Regions from separate parts of the Homo sapiens genome. Here regions 2 and 3 are each linked to region 1. Evidence: promoter capture Hi-C in 16 types of primary human blood cells and fetal thymus (Javierre and others, 2016). All regions are on one chromosome and are shown on one strand. Each heading gives the region's core, a stretch centred on a gene start or on the middle of the fragment in contact. The rest is flanking DNA. Distances are from core to core; before and after follow the strand shown. Region 1 holds the start of GRB14 (growth factor receptor bound protein 14). Region 2 has its middle 310 kb from the start of KCNH7. Region 3 has its middle 330 kb from the start of KCNH7.

Evidence for each region. Contacts are between HindIII fragments. The CHiCAGO score rates a contact against its expected background, and 5 or more counts as called.
Region 2: a fragment that was not itself captured here is called in contact with the fragment with the promoter of GRB14 in region 1 in 1 of 17 cell types (M1 macrophages); the score reaches 5.8 in M1 macrophages.
Region 3: a contact is called between a fragment that was not itself captured here and the fragment with the promoter of GRB14 in region 1, in 3 of 17 cell types (M2 macrophages, M0 macrophages and endothelial precursors). The highest score is 9.5, in M2 macrophages.

What each region holds. Positions count from the first base shown.
Region 1 is chr2:164,620,038-164,623,028 of GRCh38, reverse strand. It overlaps GRB14 (growth factor receptor bound protein 14), which reads left to right and starts at 1,547. Exons shown (of 14, transcript NM_004490.3): 1 at 1,547-1,910. The coding sequence starts at 1,720. The HindIII fragment of the contact is 9,303 bases long and covers 891-2,991 here.
Region 2 is chr2:163,142,360-163,145,350 of GRCh38, reverse strand. No RefSeq gene overlaps it. Among named protein-coding and RNA genes, the nearest start is that of KCNH7, 310 kb to the right of the region's middle. The HindIII fragment of the contact is 701 bases long and covers 1,194-1,894 here.
Region 3 is chr2:163,163,301-163,166,291 of GRCh38, reverse strand. No RefSeq gene overlaps it. Among named protein-coding and RNA genes, the nearest start is that of KCNH7, 330 kb to the right of the region's middle. The HindIII fragment of the contact is 7,154 bases long and covers 1-2,991 here.

The DNA.
Region 1 (2,991 bases), core at 298-2,797:
AGATCCCTGGCAGGCATAGTTCACCAATAGGGTTCGCTCTCTTATGAGAATCTAATGCCCAGCTGATCTGACAGGGGACAGAGCTCTTGCGGTAATGCTGGTTCACCAGCCGCTCACCTCCTGCTGTGCGGCCTGGTTTCTCACAGTCCATGGACTGGTATGGTGTGGTCCAGGGCCCAGGGGTTGGGGACCCCTGGTATAAAAGATCCCAGAGATCACACCCGCTGTGACCCAGGTCACTTCTGGGCCTTAATTTTGACATTAGGAAAATAAAGAACTTGGATTCCCTGAACTGTGACTCAAGGATTTTCTGTCTTCACGGAGTGCCCCAGGTTTCCTCACAGGTTGGGAATTAGTGACCCCTGGGTTCTCCAGTGGTCGGTGCCTCGGTGGGAGAGAATGCACTGAGATGGGGGAGGGGAGCTGCTGCTTTCTTCTGGAGGCAGTGTTTACCTTTCCCTGGGCAGAGGTTGTTGAAATTAAGAAAACCTGGTAAAGCAGATGCCAGGGACAGATATTACCTAATTTGGTCAAAGAACAAAGACCCTGTGAAACATTTGGAAATCCTCAACGGTGCATAGGGACGGGCACACTTACTGGAAGAGCAGAAACAGGATCACCCAGCATTTCAGAGTAGGGTTGCTGCATCTCAGAGGGTGAGCATAATAATGTCATTACTATTTCGAACAGTCTGGGTTTTTGAGAAGGAAGCTTCTGGGTTGGAATATTGACTCCACCAGCTACTAGTGCTATGTTACTAGTGCAAGGTACTCGATGGCTTTGAGCCCCAGTTTCCTTTTGTGTAAAATGAGATAAACATCTAATTTATGGAGCTGTTGAGAGGATGGAATAGGTAGCGTAAGGCAACCTGGAATTCATTAATGTAAGCTTCTCTCATTACCATAAAACTAATAGTCTTTCTAATTCCAGACACCTTCAGGTTTACTCATGCTTTACTGAGAATTCTCAAAATCTCAGTAGTTTTCTATAATGATTGGACTCCTTGCTCCCTATCAACCCCCCAATCTTTGGCTGCGGAGTGGATGGAAGAAGAGGCACGTGGGGAAGGACTGGGGCAAACCCTCTGGTGTCCTGGCCTCCTGGCCCGGTGGGGACTGTCATGGCGGCCCAGCAACAGCTTAGGTGATCTCAGATGGCAGAGCAGAAAGAATGCAAGGGTATGAGGGTCAGGGCTGCGCGGACCCCTATCCCGCCTGCGGTCCTCCCGGCAAGCCCAGCGGGAGCGCCCGCTCGGCTGGGTCCCCGCCTCCAGCGGCGCCGGGGCCGCCCAGACCCTGGGCTCAGCCTCGCGCCCCGGTGCCCACCTGAGGAGGCAGCGGTCCCGGCCTCGCGTCCCGGATGGGACGGCGCGGGAGCAATGCCAGTGGCCCCGAGCGCCCCGGGCCACGCGCGGGGCCGGCCAGCCGCTCTCGCGCCCTCCCCGCCCCCTCCGCGCCTTGCCTCGCCGCCCGCGGCCCCCACCCACCGGCCGCTCCTCCCCTCTCCCCACCCTCCTCCTCCGCCCCCTCCCCTCCCCCGCCGCCTCGCAGATAGCTCGGCCGCGCGTCTCAGCCGCCGGGGCCCCGAGCGCAGGCGGCGAGGCCACCACACCTGCAGAGCGCTCGGGCTGCCTAGCCGGCACCTCGCCTCCCGCCGCGCAAACCCCTTCTCCCCACGCGCCGAGTCTCCCATGACGCCCGAGCCCCCCGGCCGGCGACAATGACCACTTCCCTGCAAGATGGGCAGAGCGCCGCGAGCAGGGCGGCTGCCCGGGATTCGCCGCTGGCCGCCCAGGTGTGTGGCGCTGCCCAGGGGAGGGGCGACGCCCACGACCTGGCGCCGGCCCCCTGGCTGCACGCGCGAGCGCTCCTGCCCCTTCCGGACGGGACCCGCGGCTGTGCTGCAGACAGGTAGGCAACCCTGGAGGGCGCGGGGGAGTGTCCTGGCTGGGCAGCCGGCGAGGGGGTGAGGAGGCGGTCCTAGGGGGTGAGCCATGTGCCCAGAGCTGGGCCAAGTTTGTAAAAGTCTCTGAAGACAATCCCCTTTGAGCTGGCTCCTACCGGATCAGCAGGACATTGCGATCTCACAGCGCCTTATAAATAGCATCACCGTTTCATTGAGAGCTCTCATCTCTCTCGCCTCTGCCCATCGGTGGTGAAACTAGGAGCTCAGGCTGCAGGCTGATCACCTTCTGTTCCTTCGTGGCCATGCATTTTCACAAAGTAAACTCTATTTTATTTTATATATTTTAAAAAAATCGTAGCATAAATGTATTCACCTCCCACATAGAGTCTTACAGCGACCCTGTAGAAGCAAAGCATGGATTGACATTCGAGCAGTCTTGCTGTTCGGCAGGAAAGAATAGAGGCTTTAAAGGGTTTCCCAATCTCCATAGCATTCAGCACTAAGTGCCTTTAGAGTTGCACATACTTTCGGAAAGAAAAAGGGTTACAGCAATACAAAAATCTATAGTCCTTTATATTCATACATTTAAATGTTACTTTTTTTTTCCTGATTTTCAAAGCGCTCCAACTTCAGTGAAGTTAAAATTACTCTCCAGTGGACTATAGTACATTTATACTAGCAAGTTCTATTAACTTACCGCCTCAAAACACTGCCTTGCTGTTTAATATCTATAAGCGCTTGAAAAATCAACAGACTGTGTGTGGGCAACATTGTGAATGAAATTTGAAGTGAGATGAACCACAGCTATAATTAATAAATCATAACTTCCAAAAGTGATTAGTAAAATATCATAAGGATGAATGCACTAAATGCAACTTAGAGACTGTCAATATCATGGATGCATAACAATGTATGACTTCTCAGGTGATGTTTGGATTAGTAATTGTATAGTCTATTTTTCTGTTTCAGGAAAATTATCAAAAGTGATGGAGTTTCTATGCCTGGTGATTTAAAGGCAAGAGAGAGAGAAGGCGGTGGGGGGGGGAGGGGTGGTGGGAGGGGAGAGAGAGAGAGAGAGAGAGAGAC
Region 2 (2,991 bases), core at 295-2,794, 1.5 Mb after region 1:
GAGCAGGTTAACACCTTAAGAATACCTTATTGTGTTTTACATTTTAATGCTTAATTTACAGAAAACCCATGTAATACCTTTGTGAGTTAATTGTTCACACAGAGAACCTCTTCTACAAAATTAATTTCCACAGTCCTTCCACCACTTGTTTAAACCTTCAGCTTTATCCTAATTTAAAATAATCCTTTAACCTTAGGCAGAAAATTACATTTCTGTGCATTCTTATAATCTTTTACCAAAAAACCCCCCACATTTTACTGTTCTTACACAACTTGCATGTAAGTATTTCCAGTAGTCTCAATTACATGTTATAATGGCAACTCCTAGTAATTATTAACTTTAATTTAAAACCTGGTAAATTGTTTTAATTGTGTGGGAGGTGCAGCCATGGTTTGACTCCCAGCATAATTAAGGGCGTGTGTGTCCCATATGTACCCTGGCCTTACCAACTGTGAAGCTAGCAAGTTAAATACTTCTCAAAATCCAAAAAGCAGTTTATAACCTCAAAGTACTTAGCAAACCTTACATATAACCTGCATAATTTAGTCACCTTATTTACACTTTGATGACATCTGCCTTTTGCCAATAATCTTTAAGGCTGTTTTTATTCCTCAAAAATTAAAGTCACATGAACTGAAAGGTACAACGGCTTTTATCTTCCCTTTAAAAAATATTTGATCCAAGTGCTTGTCTTTCTTTAGGCCAAGTTAATTAGAGTTCTTTTTACAGACATCACACACACACATATAACTACACACACAGGCAGGAGAAAACCCATTCCACTGGTGGTGTGCTTTAAGATACAGGACTAGGAAAACATGCAGATATCAAGCCAGAAAGGAACTCATTCCCTAAGGCAGGATTGCTAAGCAAAGCCTTGCCACGGAGTTACAGGCCATGCCCCCAGGATGTTAAATAAGATGGAGGCCTGCAGAGAAGTTTGCTATGAACCATACAGACATGCAAAGCACACTAGATTGGCTACAGCTTAAGGTCAACCTCACAAATCCTTTTTCATAATTAAAACTTTACAGAGAATATAAACAGTGATCCTTATCACTTCTAGCCTAGTAAAACGCCTTCCAAATGGAAAAGAAACTAAAAGTTACCTGCTGATGTTGTAGGGAAAAGGATGCCTGGGGAATCAATGTCTTATTCTTACACAACTGATTCCTCCACCAGGGAGAAAAGCTTAATTACTGTCCAATGAAGTTGAACCCTTGGCTGAGGAAAGGCATGGACACGTGACATTCCCCACCCCCAGCCGGGAGTGGAAGGGGAGTGAGGAACCGTCGCTCACCCATCGAGCCTGAAACTAGAAGAAAAAGGCCATGGAAAAGCCCCTGATCCTGGGAGTGACAGGGGTGGAGGTATGGTTTCCTCTACCCTCAGAAGTCCGAGGATTAAAAGGCTTAGAAGTGACAGTGAAAGGTCTTGAGTTCCCATTTCAGTCGCCCCTTCTAAGCCCCAAGTTGGGTGCCAAAGATATTGTAGGACTTTTTCCTTAGTTCAGTTAGGAGCTGGGTTCTTGTCAAATGGCCATCAGAGATTAGGCTCACAGACAATTTGAAGGGTGAGAATAATGGAATTTATTGGGCAAAAAGAAAAAAAAAAAAGCAAACAGGGACCCTCTGCAAAGCCAGGGTCCTGCTAGTGTGCTTCCCACCCGGCAGGTTGAATTCCAGGTTCTACCCAGGAAGAAGAGGAACCATGTTCCTCCTCCACTGCAAATGGCATGAACTCCTGTGGCTTCACCCCAGTGTGCACTCCTCCCAGTACACAGGCTAGTTGGACTTTCTCTGGGGACCCCTTCCCACCAGGCCGTCTCATTATCAGAATTATGTATGCATATATAATTATGTTATTAGTTGTAATGCTTTCTTTTATCAAAGCTTTTACCATTCTTAGAAAGAGGGTTCAGGTAACTAGCAGTAGGGATGGGTCCTGGGAATAATTTCTCTTTATAGGCCTGTTTTTTTCTGACTCTTAATGTTCTATCAGGGGCAGCACTGAAGACTTTAGACCAATGCAAGAATATGTGTATTTACAAAATGCCCACTGAATACTCTCTCTCTCTCTCTCTCTCACACACACACACACACACACACACACACTTTGGCACTCAGTTATCGAAACTTCAATTTTAAAATTTGTTGATAAAGAATACTGTGTTTCCCAACAGTAGTAGATAAATGAGGTCTTAGCTCTTCAAATAGCATAACTATTGACATATGATCACCAACTTTGTACTTAAAATGGCATGAACTTTATCGGCCAAAACTACAGTTAACAATATTTTCTCTTCTTGAAGCATTATTGTAGGTGATATTGTGTATGTATAATTAGATATACTATGTATATACAATATGTTACATATTATATTGTAAAATGCTTACAAATGGCTAAAATATGACTAACTCCTCCTTTCCCTTATTTTGCTTTTTGATCACTATCAATTAATCTCAGGACCTGAGTTATAATTTCACAAGAATTTGAACTTTATTTTTCTGCGGAGAGTCACGTGATTTGTAAGTATGAATCTTATCATTGCACATTATTTCTTAATTTGTTGTTTTACCCTTAGCATTTACCAAAAACTCTAATTTACATCCCCTCTATTATCCTATCATCTTTCTACATACCATCTTCTTCATTTAAAAAAGACAAATTTGTTTGGAGTTATTAAAAAAGTAAATAATGATCAAGGAAAAACTGAGGTCACAAGGGAATACTTCTCTGAGAAACGTATGTTTGACCTAGATTGCAAGTTTGCTCTATAAAAAAGTGTGCCTTTATTCTCGTGCTCTGTTAACATTGCATTACTATAAAAAGTCAGACTAACAAAATCCCAGCAGAATATGTACATTACAGCGGTTACTAAGGTAACTCCTTTAAATTTCTCTAAATAGAAAAAATTAAAAATATATTATTTGAGGGCAGATAAGTTAAGTCTGTCCCAAGGCTTTCTAAGAGTATTTTTGTGGCAGCAAT
Region 3 (2,991 bases), core at 364-2,863, 1.5 Mb after region 1:
GTCCACTAATAGACAAATAATGTTTGTAGCAGTCCTATAGGTAGTAGCCCAAAAAATGAAGAAATCTAGTTGTCTATCCATGGTAAAGTGTGCAAATATTTTGTGGCATATGTATAAAAGGAAATATTCTACTGCAATGAGATTTAACAAGCCAAAACTATAATTAACAACATGTATGAATACCACAAATACAAAGCTGAGCAAAATAAGCCAGATACAAAAGAATGCATACTGTATGATTCCACATATGTAAAGTTCACAAATAGACACAAATGTATCTATACAGTGTTAGAAGTTAGGATAGTGGCTACTGTCTGGGGTTTAATGATTGGAAGGAGTTGCAAAGGGGTTTTGGCATGCTAACAATGCACTGTTTCTTGATCTGGATACTGGTTACATAGGCATGTTAATTTTGTAAAAATCTATCAAGCAAGCTACATTCTTATGACTTTTTTACTTTTTTAAGTCTTTTCCTTCCATAAAATTACTTTTTAAAGTCTGGGGAGAAAGTTATGAAAGAATTAATAACATATCCTAGAACTAAGAAATATGTGTTTCCAAGATAAACAGAACAATAAATGATCTAGGTCAATGAATAAAAATAGAAGCACATTAAGACAGATCATCATGAAAATTAGAACAAAAGGGAGAAAAAATCAAAAGCTATATGGAAGAGAAAAATTACACAAAACCATCAGAAATCATTGGCACTGGACATCCAGAGAGCAGCCCAGAAAATCTAAAAAATAATAAAGCAATGTCTTTAAAACATTAAGAGTAAATGATGCTCAATCTACCCTTCTATACCTAGCTAAATTAGCAAACATTAGGAAAAAGTAATTTTGAAATTAAGAAAGTTCTCAAAATTTTTACTTTCAATATGCCTTTACTTAGAAGTCACTAGATGATACTGTGCTCCATAAAATGAAGAAATAAACTATGTATGGCAAATTTTCCAAAGCAGGTCATCAAAGTATTTTCTATTTTATGTGCTCTCTGCAATACGAACTTCCCACTCCTTCATCAAGAGTCAGAGTCTATTTCTATACCCACTTCAATCTGACAAGCTCTGTGACTGCTTTGACTAATAAAATATTATATAAGTGAAGCATGAAAGCTCCATGAATGACCTTTAACTGGTCTGGCAGCTGCCACTTCAGAAACCATCTGTCATGTGAGAAGTGCTCAGACCACCATGCTATGAGGAGACCAAGCTACAGGGAAAGACAATGGAGAATGGCAAACTATGTGGAATGTAGGAAAGGCCAAGGGACATTGCAGTAATGAATATATGAGTGAAGAAACCATTTTGGATGTAGAACATTAAGCCCAAGCTATTTCGGTTGGCACTGGGTACACCACAGACAAATGTCGTAGTAAAGCCCTTCCTTAATACTTGACCTTCAAAATAGGGAAAAAAAAGAAATATTTATTTCAATCCACTATGTTTAGAAATGGTTTGTTTTGCAGTAATAGATTATCAGATCACTTAGAAGGATAAATACAGAAATACAAAACTTAATGCAAGAGAAGGGAGAGATGAAAAGTCACTTTCAAGGAAGATGATGAAGTGGGGACTTCGAAGAAAGCTGCTCAAACAGCATCTCGTTCTAGAGGGCAAGACTCCAAGAAGAAAATCTAATAAATTTAAAAAGGGTATATTTGTATGTATTCAGATGAGACTTTTAATACTTTCTGAGAAAATTTGGGGTTGTCTCAGTCACGCAGAAAAATAAAGCACATGTTAATTCAAGAATAAATAAAGTGTGTAAAAAGGAATGTAACAACATCCAAATTCTTATTTTAGATGTTAGTTACATAATTATTAAAATGTAGGTGAAATTACACAATGCAAATTGAAAATTTTAGGAAGTCAATGTAGACACTTAGCAAATTTATGTGTTTGTATGTTTGGTGGAGGAGAGGTCTTGGAGGTTTTGTGGGAGAACTAAATTCTTGTCTACCTATAAGAAATACCAGAATAAATTGGTTGTATAGAAATTTGAAAGTAAATACCAGAAGAAATAGCTGAAACAGTTCAAAGTATTTGTCTCATGAAAATGGAAGTTAGGGATAGAAGGAAATCAGGAAATAAAATAATCTTTTTCATATTACTAAACAAATACACATATTCCTTTGATAAATTTGTTTATCCTAAAATCAAGGAAAAGATATAACAAAAAAATAGTAACCAAAAGAAAGAAATATTTTTGATAAAAAACAAAAAAGCATGATATACTGGTATAAGAAAAAAGGTGTGTCAACAATATCTAAAAATTTAAGGTAAATATAAATAATATTTTGCTCCAAAAATATATAAAGCAAAATTTGATAGAACATCTAGCAGAAACATAGAAATCAACAAATACAGTGGGGGATTTTGATATACTCCATCTCATGCTAAGACTGATGACACAGACATAAGCAAATATATGGAAGATTAAAGTGCATTTAAGCATAATAAGCTAAAATTAATTTTTATAGACTTTAGATTATATATTACTTTGATGCATACACAAAATATGACAAAATTGATTTATACTAAATATTAAATTTAAAAGAATATGATAGAGGTTCACACACACACACACACATACAAAAGACAAGACAAGGCCTGACAATTTCAACTGGTAAAGCTGCGAAGATCCACTTTTAGGGGCTGAGTGACTGCCATTTTGTTTAGGAGCCAAATCTAGATTGCAGTGAAAGGGCTTTATATTCTGCAGTTCTATTCTGAAGAAGGTGGAGCAGAAAGCCCCTAACTCATCAGATCCAGGATGTGATGAAACATTCTTACAATAGCCTTCCATGGCAGATAAAGAGGTAAGTGGGAGATGGCCTCACAGCAGCTCCTTAGGGGTCTCCCACACTCTCAAGTCTGGTGATACCATAAGATGTGCTGCCAAGATTCAGATAAACTGTATTTCGAGCTTTTGCCTAGTGAATATATTAAAGGTCACCAGAGTAGTATGGGTGAGCCATTCCCCTATG